2 separate regions of the Homo sapiens genome follow, and region 1 is linked to region 2. Evidence: promoter capture Hi-C in 16 types of primary human blood cells and fetal thymus (Javierre and others, 2016). All regions are on one chromosome and are shown on one strand. The core of a region is centred on a gene start or on the middle of the fragment in contact, and the rest is flanking DNA. Distances in the headings are between cores, read along the strand shown. Region 1 overlaps RAB27A (RAB27A, member RAS oncogene family). Region 2 holds the start of RAB27A (RAB27A, member RAS oncogene family).

Region 1 (4,180 bases), core at 1,022-3,521, 36 kb before region 2:
TTCAGAAGAAATTTCTAGTATTAGGCTCAGCTAATGTCTGTGTCATGAGGAGTGTTTTACATGAAAGTACCCTTGCTTGAAACCATTACAAAGTTCCAGGGAAGGAGAAAGCGGCATGAGGTAGAGGGGACAGAGAAACCCCTAGCACTCCCTACCTGGCTTCATGTCAAGGCAGCACAAAATCAACTCCAACCCACAGGGATTAAGTACAAAGGGAGTTTTCAGACAGGTGTTCAAAGTCATACCAAGGTCAAACACCAAGAGACTAAGGAGCAGGTCAACAAAGGGGAAGAGTAGTTTATGGATCTGGGAGTCTTGGAGGTCAGCATTCCAAGAATTCAAGAGGACATCTGGGCAGACAACACAGTTCATTAGAGCCCACAGCAACAGTAGCTAGAAAAGACCGGGGGAGGGTGGTGAGGGATATAAAAACTACATATTGGGTACAATGTACACTATTCAGGTGATGGGTGCACTAAAATCTCGGAATTTACCACTATATTATTCATCCAAGTGGCTGGATACAGTGGCTCACACTTGTAATCCCAGCACTTTGGCAGGCCAAGGCAGGTGGATCACTTGAGGCCAGGAGTTCAACAGCCTGGCCAACATGGGGAAACCCCATCTCTACTAAAAAATACAAAAATTAGCTAGGCGTGGGGACACGTGCCTGTAATCCTAGCTACTCTGAAGGCTGAGGCACGAGAATGGCTTGAACCTGGGAGGCGGAAGCTGCAGTGAGCCAAGATCGCACTACTGTACTCCAGCCTGGGCGACAGAGTGAGATTCCATCTCAAAAAAACGTACAGAATAAAATAATAATTCATCCATGCAGCCAAAAACCCCAAAAGCTATTGATTGATAGACAGACAGACAGACAGATAGATACAGATATACGTATCTATCTATCTATATACAAAAAAAAAGACCCATAGTAGTTGTTGCTTTATCAAAAGCCAGAGAAATGTTCTAACCTTCTAAGTTACAGCAATTTATTCAATCAACTTGCTTTCCTCTACTCTGCCAACCAGTTTGAAAGGCTCCCTGGCCGGGCGCGGTGGCTCACACCTGTAATCCCAGCACTTTGGGAGGCCAAGGCGGGTGGATCACGAGGTCAAGAGATCGAGACCAGCTGGCCAACATGGTGAAACCCCAGCCCTACTAAAATTACAAAAATTAGTTGGGCATGGTGGCATGTGCCTGTAATCCCAGCTACTCAGGAGGCTGAGGCAGTAGAATCACTTGAACCCAGGAGGCGGAGGTTGCAGTGAGCCAAGATCGTGCCACTGCACTCCAGCCTGGGTGACAGAGCAAGACTCTGTCTCTGAAAAAAAAAAAAAGAAAGAAAGGCTCCCTAATGGCCAGGCGTGGTGGCTCATGCCTATAATCCCAGCACTTTGGAAAGCCAAGGCTGACAGATCACCTGAGGTCAGGTATTCGAGACCAGCCTGGCCAACATGGTGAAACCCATCTCTACTAAAAATACAAAAATTAGCCGGGCACGGTGGCGGGTGCCTATAATTCCAGCTACCCCAGAGGCTAAGGCAGGAGAATCGCTTGAACCAGGGAGGCAGAGGTTGCAGTGAGCCAAGATCGTGCCACCGCACTCCAGCCTGGGTGACAGAGCGAGACTCCGTCTCAAAGGAAAAAAAAAAAGAAAGGCTCCCTAAGTATTCCAACTAGGTTCCTTCACTAAGTTTCGTTTTCCTACCTAGGCAGATGGAAAGCCAAGCATCCAGGTTAGAACTTAGTCCCCCAAGGCCATACCTTGTCTCTGTCCTCAGCTAAGCCCAGGATAAGGCCATCTATGGAAACAAAGCTCCTATTTTCTTAACATGCCTCTGAGAAAGATATTTGAAGCCTAGAGGTTAAGAACATAAGGGCTAAAATAAGCAGGCAAGAGGGTGACTCAGAAAGAACAAGAGCCTTGTTTAAAAAAAAAAAAGAGTCGGGGAATAAACCTCAATACAGATTTACTAACACAGAAATAAAGACTTTGTGTTAGCAAAGAGACTATGAATCAGCAAGAGAACAACGCAAGAGGATAAAGGAAATTGTAGACAAGAGCAGCATAAACCATGAAGATGTAAGTATCCACGTGTTTATAACATGGATAATTGATAAGTAATAAGTAAGTCTTCAGAAACTATGTTTGAGTGTTCAGGGGAAATCACAAAAACAAGTAACAGTACACTTAATTTTTTAAATGAGGTTGAAATGAGATTCTGCATGAGAGATAACTGTAAAGTAGTAAAAAAGGTTTCAGAAGTCACACATGAAAATCAATCTCATAATTCTACAATCACATTTTAGTATGTCCACATTTTAAAGTATAAAGTTAGACTTTATATACCAACAAATTTGGCTGCAAGGTTTGTAAGTTGAGTTTTGACCTCGAGAAATACCTTCCTATTTTTTAAAGAAAGAAATATTATAATGACATTCCTTTTAAGTTATTACTTTCCTATACATACTTGCTTATCACATAAAAAATATAATTGCTATATAGCCATCAAGCATTAAAAATAAACCAACACATCTAACAATAGGCCTCAATGGTACTAATCTATTTTCCTAGATATATCACTTTAAAACCACATATGAATGTCTAAGAAATAAAAGTTTTTTATTTTTCTTTTAGAATCTACAGCATACAACATGATAAAATTATTTTGTATAAAAATTATAATTTTTAATTAATTTGAAATAATTTCCATTAATTTCTGATGCTTGTAAGCATTTTAGATATACATTCCTTTAGCTCTTATAATATACTTATAAACTGTGAAAAATTCTGAGACAGGAAGGAACAGATATTAAAATTCTATTACTTCTAATCTAAAAGCCCTCCATCTTATGTTCTCTGTAGGAGACAGAAACTCACAAAAGAAAATGTTTGGCTTCTACTATTAAGAAATTGGACATTTTTCACATATATTACAGTGGAAGGGGTTTTACATTTCTTTCAGGCACAAAATATTTATGAACTCGGGAGCAGCCCAAACATAAAGATAAAATGCAGCATGACTTTCCAAACCAAAATCTGCGGCTTATGTCTATGGATTTTTGTGACCCTTTTGGGAAAAGGCAGAGTTGGAAACACAATTTAGTTGTCCAAGTATTAGAACTTTTAAAGCATCTCTTTGATTTATGAAGAAAATGCACAAAAATACGTTAAAGGAGGCAGTACCAGAAAATCCAGCAAGTTGCTCATCACTACACACCTCTATGCACAGATGACATGAGCAATTATTTGTCTTTCCTTCACTTCTGACTGCCAGGGCTCAGGGCTGAGGTCCTATTGACTGCACATAGTATAAGAAAGGGAAGAGAAAGTTGTTTCAACGGCAACATCCTCACCTACTTATGTCTCTTTTCTCCTGGTTCCAGTAATTAACAGAATGATCACAAACTGAAACCAAACTGCAACTCTATCCCTTCCACTCTCACCCTGGAAGCCTGTTCTCATAAATCCATCCTCCTCGGGGTATTCCTTTAATCAATGTTTATTAATATGAATGAATGCTTTGGCTAACTTGTACAGGTCATCTGCCACTTTTAAGTACTCCATTCCCACCTCATGGGTGTGTTTCATCTCTTTGGTACAGTTGCATATTTCCTGAAGAGTCTCATTTTGTGTATTGCTTCTCCACTACCCCTCACCACTGGACAGACAACTGGCCAGCTGTCACTCAAATGCTAATTGTGTCTATCATCTGCTTTCTCTAATAGCCTTTTCCTTCCGCTGGTTCCCTCCATTCCCTGCCAATTTTATTTAGAAGTGACTCAAAAAGTGTTTGGGGACTCCACTGATAGCTGTGCTTTTTTGATAATTAAACCATATTTACATCCAATTCAACAGTATTTGGTAAGCAATTACTACCTTTCCAGTACGGTGCTAGCAACTACGAATGGCATGAAAGAAACACAGGATCCAACTGCTCCCTTCAAGAAGTTGGTAATTAGGGTGAGGTGGAATGATGTACTCATTTACGAAAAAGGACGGATAAGACAATATTATCAGGGAGAAAAACGTCTGGTACACCATGTGCACCAGCCAGCACAAGAAATCAAAAGTGAAAGGGGCTTCAAGTCAAAAGACCTGAACTCTGCTACTTCCTTCCTAGCTATGTGTCCTGTGGTGAGCCAGACAGCTTCCCCACACTGTTTCCTCAATATG
Region 2 (4,238 bases), core at 773-3,272:
GTCAAAACAATCTTGAAAAAGAACAAGGTTGGAGGACTCACATATCCTGATTTCAAAACACTATGTAGCTACAATAATCAAGGTAGTATGATACTAGCCTGAGGACAGACATACAGATCAATGGAATAGAACTGACAGTCCAGAAATAAACCTTTACATTCATGGTCAATTTATCTCAACAGAGGTGCCAAAACTATTCAAAGAGGAACAGTCTTTTAAACAAATGGTGCTGAAAGAACTGGATATCCACATGCAAAAAGTTGAAGTCAGACCCCCTGCCTCACACCATATTTAAAAATTAACTTAAAATGGGTCAAAGAATGAAATGTAAGAGCTAAAAACTATAAAACTTTTAGAAGAAAACATAAGTATAAATCTTCATGATCTTGAATTTGACAATGTTTTCTTAACTTTGACATCAAAAGCACAAACAACAAAAGGAAAAATAGGCTCGGTGCAGTGGCTCAAGCCTATAATCCCAGCACTTTGGGAGGCTGACGCAGGTTGATCACTTGAGGTCAGGAGTTCAAGACCAGCCTGGCCAACATAGCAAAACCCCGCCTCTACTAAAAATACAAAAATTAGCCAAGCATGGTAGCACACACCTGTAATTCCAGCTACTCTGGAGTCTGAAGCAAAAGAATCACTTCAACCCAGGAAGCGGAGGTTGCTGTGAGCCAAGATCATGCCACCGCATTCCTACCTGGGCGACAGAGTGAGACTCTGTCTCAAAAGAAAAAAAAGGAAAAATAGATTAAATATACTTCAACGAAATTAAAAATCAAGGCACGTCACAGAAATTAAGGAAGGAAGAAAAAAGGGAGGGAGGGAGGAAGAGAGAATGGTAGAAAGGAAGGAAGAAAAAAGTAGGAATGAAAACATAAAACAACATAAACCAACATAAAATACAGAAAATAATGATCCTCAGTCAAGTTCCTTCAGCATTATATTAACCTTTCTTCACTTCTAACCATCTGCAGAAACTGTTTTCCAGATTGTATTTTCCCTCTAAAGCAAGTTTTTAAGGCCGAAAAAAAAAAAAGAACAAGAACAGTGAGTGGAGAATCAACAAATTTAATTAGCAATGATTACAGAAAACTTAAATAGCACACACAACTCTATAATCCCTCTACCCCCAATTCCAACATCTGACTGATCAACCAACCATAAAATGTGAGAATCCATCCAGAAGGAAAGAACAGCTGTTAAGCTGTAGGGGTAAGGACCCTGTGGCAGAAGACCCTGAGGCCATGTGGGCCCAGGTGGCCAGCAGGAGCGGAAAGGCTGGGAAGGCTCCTCAGTCCAGGGCTCACAAGACTCCCTTCGCTTCAGGCCTGACTTTGCTGAACTGGTGATCTATTGGGACAGAGACAGGCTTTGGCAATAGTTACCAAAGCCTGTCATCATATCTGCACCACCACCAGTCCCGACCGGAGGGCCTGGCTGCCAGGTAGTTTTCAGTCTAACTGACAGGAGAAGAGAGAGCCCCTCCCTCGCAGCTAGTCTGCAGTCCAGACCCTCACCAACCGGAGGGCAACCAGGTTAAACAGTTAAACTGAAAGCAAAAGAGGGAGGAATGAACCGGGGGGCGTGCGGGAGGTCGGGGACTTTCCTCCTTTCCCTCCTGGAAAGTTTCCTACCCCTGATGGGCATCCTCCCACCTGGATGCAACCCGGAGGCGATCTGAGACCCTGGCCGGACCTGGGACCGCACCTGGCCAGCACCAGGCAGTTGTCATCACTGGGGTCTGCGCTGAGGGCCTGGGAGAGAAGCCACTCTTCAGGCGGGCTCGGGCGCCTGGAGGCGGGGAGGAAGGGCGGCGCACTCGGACCCCAGCCCTAGGACGGCCCCAGGGGGACGCCTCGCTCGGCCCTCCCGGAGGGACCGGACCCGCCGCGCGCCTCCCGCTCCTCAGGCCCCCTCACCTGGCTCGCCCCGCCGTCCTGTCCCCGCCTGGCTCGGGTCCTCGCGCGCCGCGTCCACCCGCCGCCGGCCTTTTTTGGGTCGTTGGCGGGTATTTTCCGCCTGGCCCCACATCACTTCCCGTAAAGGAGAGCGAGGTGGGGCGGGACCTTCTCTCCTCCACCTCCCGCCTTCTCCTGTCACCTCGGGAGCGGCCCCCGCCCGGCTGGCGGGGGGCGGGGTGCTGTCGCGCTCTCCCCGGCGGCCGCGCCTCCGAGGGGTCCTCTGTGAGCCCCGAAAAGGCCCCGCTCGCCTCCTTTGTCCCAACACTAGTTTCCGCTGCCCCATTCTGGAAGGCGCTACAAAATATAGGAGTGTTTTCGTTTTGGGACACAGGAGGGACATTTACAAACTGCACCAAGGACCGGTGCGCGGCGAGGTGTCGTTTGGGGACTCTCCCCTATTCACCTCCCCAAAAAGCCATGTTCTAAGGGTGTTTTCCACGGCATCAGTTCGCGGTCGCCACCGTAGCAGCCGGAGGTGCCGGGCGTACTCACGCCGGCCCCGCCCGAGGTTCCCGAGTCCGCGCGGCTCCTGAGGCGGCGTCCCAGGCCCGGCCCTGCCCCCGGCTTCCCGCCCCTGCGGCTCCTGGCTTAGGTCGGCCTGGACACGGCGTTTCCGGGGCAAGGGAATGCCCAGGATTCCTGGAAATAACATGGGAGAAAAATAAGTAAAAAATTTCGCAGGAAAAAAATCAATGTAATTCCGGGAGGAAATGGCAAACGGAGTCTCTGCTCACACTGTGTAATTCAAGAATATAAAACCACTGTAAATTTCTAAGAGTGTTAGAGCAATGAGTTTAAAAAGAAGAAAACTACAGTATGTTAAGGAACCGCCTCTGTCGGAAGAAACCTGCGCGCCTTTGCTGCCACCCAGCGGCTCTCTTCTCCCAGCGCCAACGGTGTCGCTCCGGCCTGCGGGGTAGTGAACCTGGGACTGCGTAGGGGGTCAGACCTCGTGGTTCCCACTCAGAGGCAGCCAAGTTCATCCCTCTCAGTGGCCAGGAGGTGTGAACAGCAGCCCTTGGGCCTGTCCCTATGGAGTCTAAGGCAAAGGCCCTTTGAACCAAATGTTTCCACTTCTAAGCAGAGTAAAATGTTGAGAAGCCTTAGTTCAGCTTCCCTTCTGCCTTCTAAGCCGTCTCGCTGACTTGTGTCTACCTCCACCGCAAATTCCAGCTGTCGCAGGCCCACCCGGTCAACTCCATCACCTTTCCAGTCTGTAGCTACTCACAGTTGGCATTACAGCAGTTAGCTTCTCAGGTGGGTCCAATTTACAAAATCACATATAGGATGAACCATATGAAATTACAAACAGTTGGCAATTTCATACATTTGATATAACATTTCCAGGCAAACATAACACAGTAAACTCGGGTTTAGAGATAACAAATGTCCTAACAGGTTGATAACTTCAAGAGCTCTTCCCGTGTGAGAGAAGGGCCATCAGACTGTTGGTGAGGTTAAGAGAGAAAAAGGCCGGGTTAGGTGGCTCACGCCTGTAATCCCAGCACTTTGGGAGCCCGAGGCCGGCAGATCACGAAGTCAGGAGATCGAGACCATCCTGGCTAACACGGTGAAACCCCGTCTCTACTAAAAATACAAAAAATTAGCAGGGCGTCGTGGCACGCGCCTGTAGTCTCAGCTACTTAGGAGGCTGAGGGCAGGAGAATCGCTTGAACCCGAGAGGTGGAGGTTGCAATGAGCCGAGATGGCGCCACTGCACTCCAGCCTGGGCGACCGAGCGAGACTCTGTTTCAAAAAAAAAAAAAAAAAAAAAAAAAAAAAAAAAGGGAAAAGGTAGCCTCATGTTCATGTCCAGAGGAATAGTCCTGGGAATCACTGATCAGCTAAAATCTGGGAAACCAATAATGTAGTAATTGCTAATGGCTGATATGGCACAGGGAAAGCCTGCCTTCAGCTTTCCCCACTCCTGTGGCCAGGCAAGGCTCTCACCAGGAGTATACCAGACAGGAGATCAGAAAACCTAGGATGGTGCTATGGCCCATTCATCACCCATTCATTCACTCATTCATCAAGTCAGGCACCCTATTAGTAAACAAGGTAAACTGGTCCCTGACGTCAGGACTTACTTGAGAGACCATCGAATAAGTAGGCAACTCCAGTAGTGAGATAAGAGCCTCAATAAAGGAAGTTAAAGAGTGTTATTGGAGCACAGATAAATGACACCAAATCAAGAGAAAGTTAAGGATAAACTTAGAATGAATGAGGGCAAGGGGCAAGGGAGAAGAGAATTCCAGGAAAATGGAGCAGAGG

Evidence for each region. The method cuts DNA at HindIII sites, captures the fragments that hold promoters and counts their contacts. A CHiCAGO score of 5 or more calls a contact.
Region 1: a contact is called between a fragment that was not itself captured here and the fragment with the promoter of RAB27A in region 2, in 1 of 17 cell types (total CD8 T cells). The highest score is 5.3, in total CD8 T cells.

Annotation. Positions count from the first base shown.
Region 1 is chr15:55,251,807-55,255,986 of GRCh38, forward strand. All of the region lies in intron 2 of RAB27A (RAB27A, member RAS oncogene family), which reads right to left. Among named protein-coding and RNA genes, the nearest start is that of RAB27A, 36 kb to the right of the region's middle. The HindIII fragment of the contact is 5,603 bases long and covers 1-4,180 here.
Region 2 is chr15:55,287,791-55,292,028 of GRCh38, forward strand. It overlaps RAB27A (RAB27A, member RAS oncogene family), which reads right to left and starts at 2,023. Exons shown (of 7, transcript NM_183235.3): 1 at 1,926-2,023. RefSeq lists a silencer at 1,711-2,240 and an enhancer at 2,341-2,490. The HindIII fragment of the contact is 29,121 bases long and covers 1-4,238 here.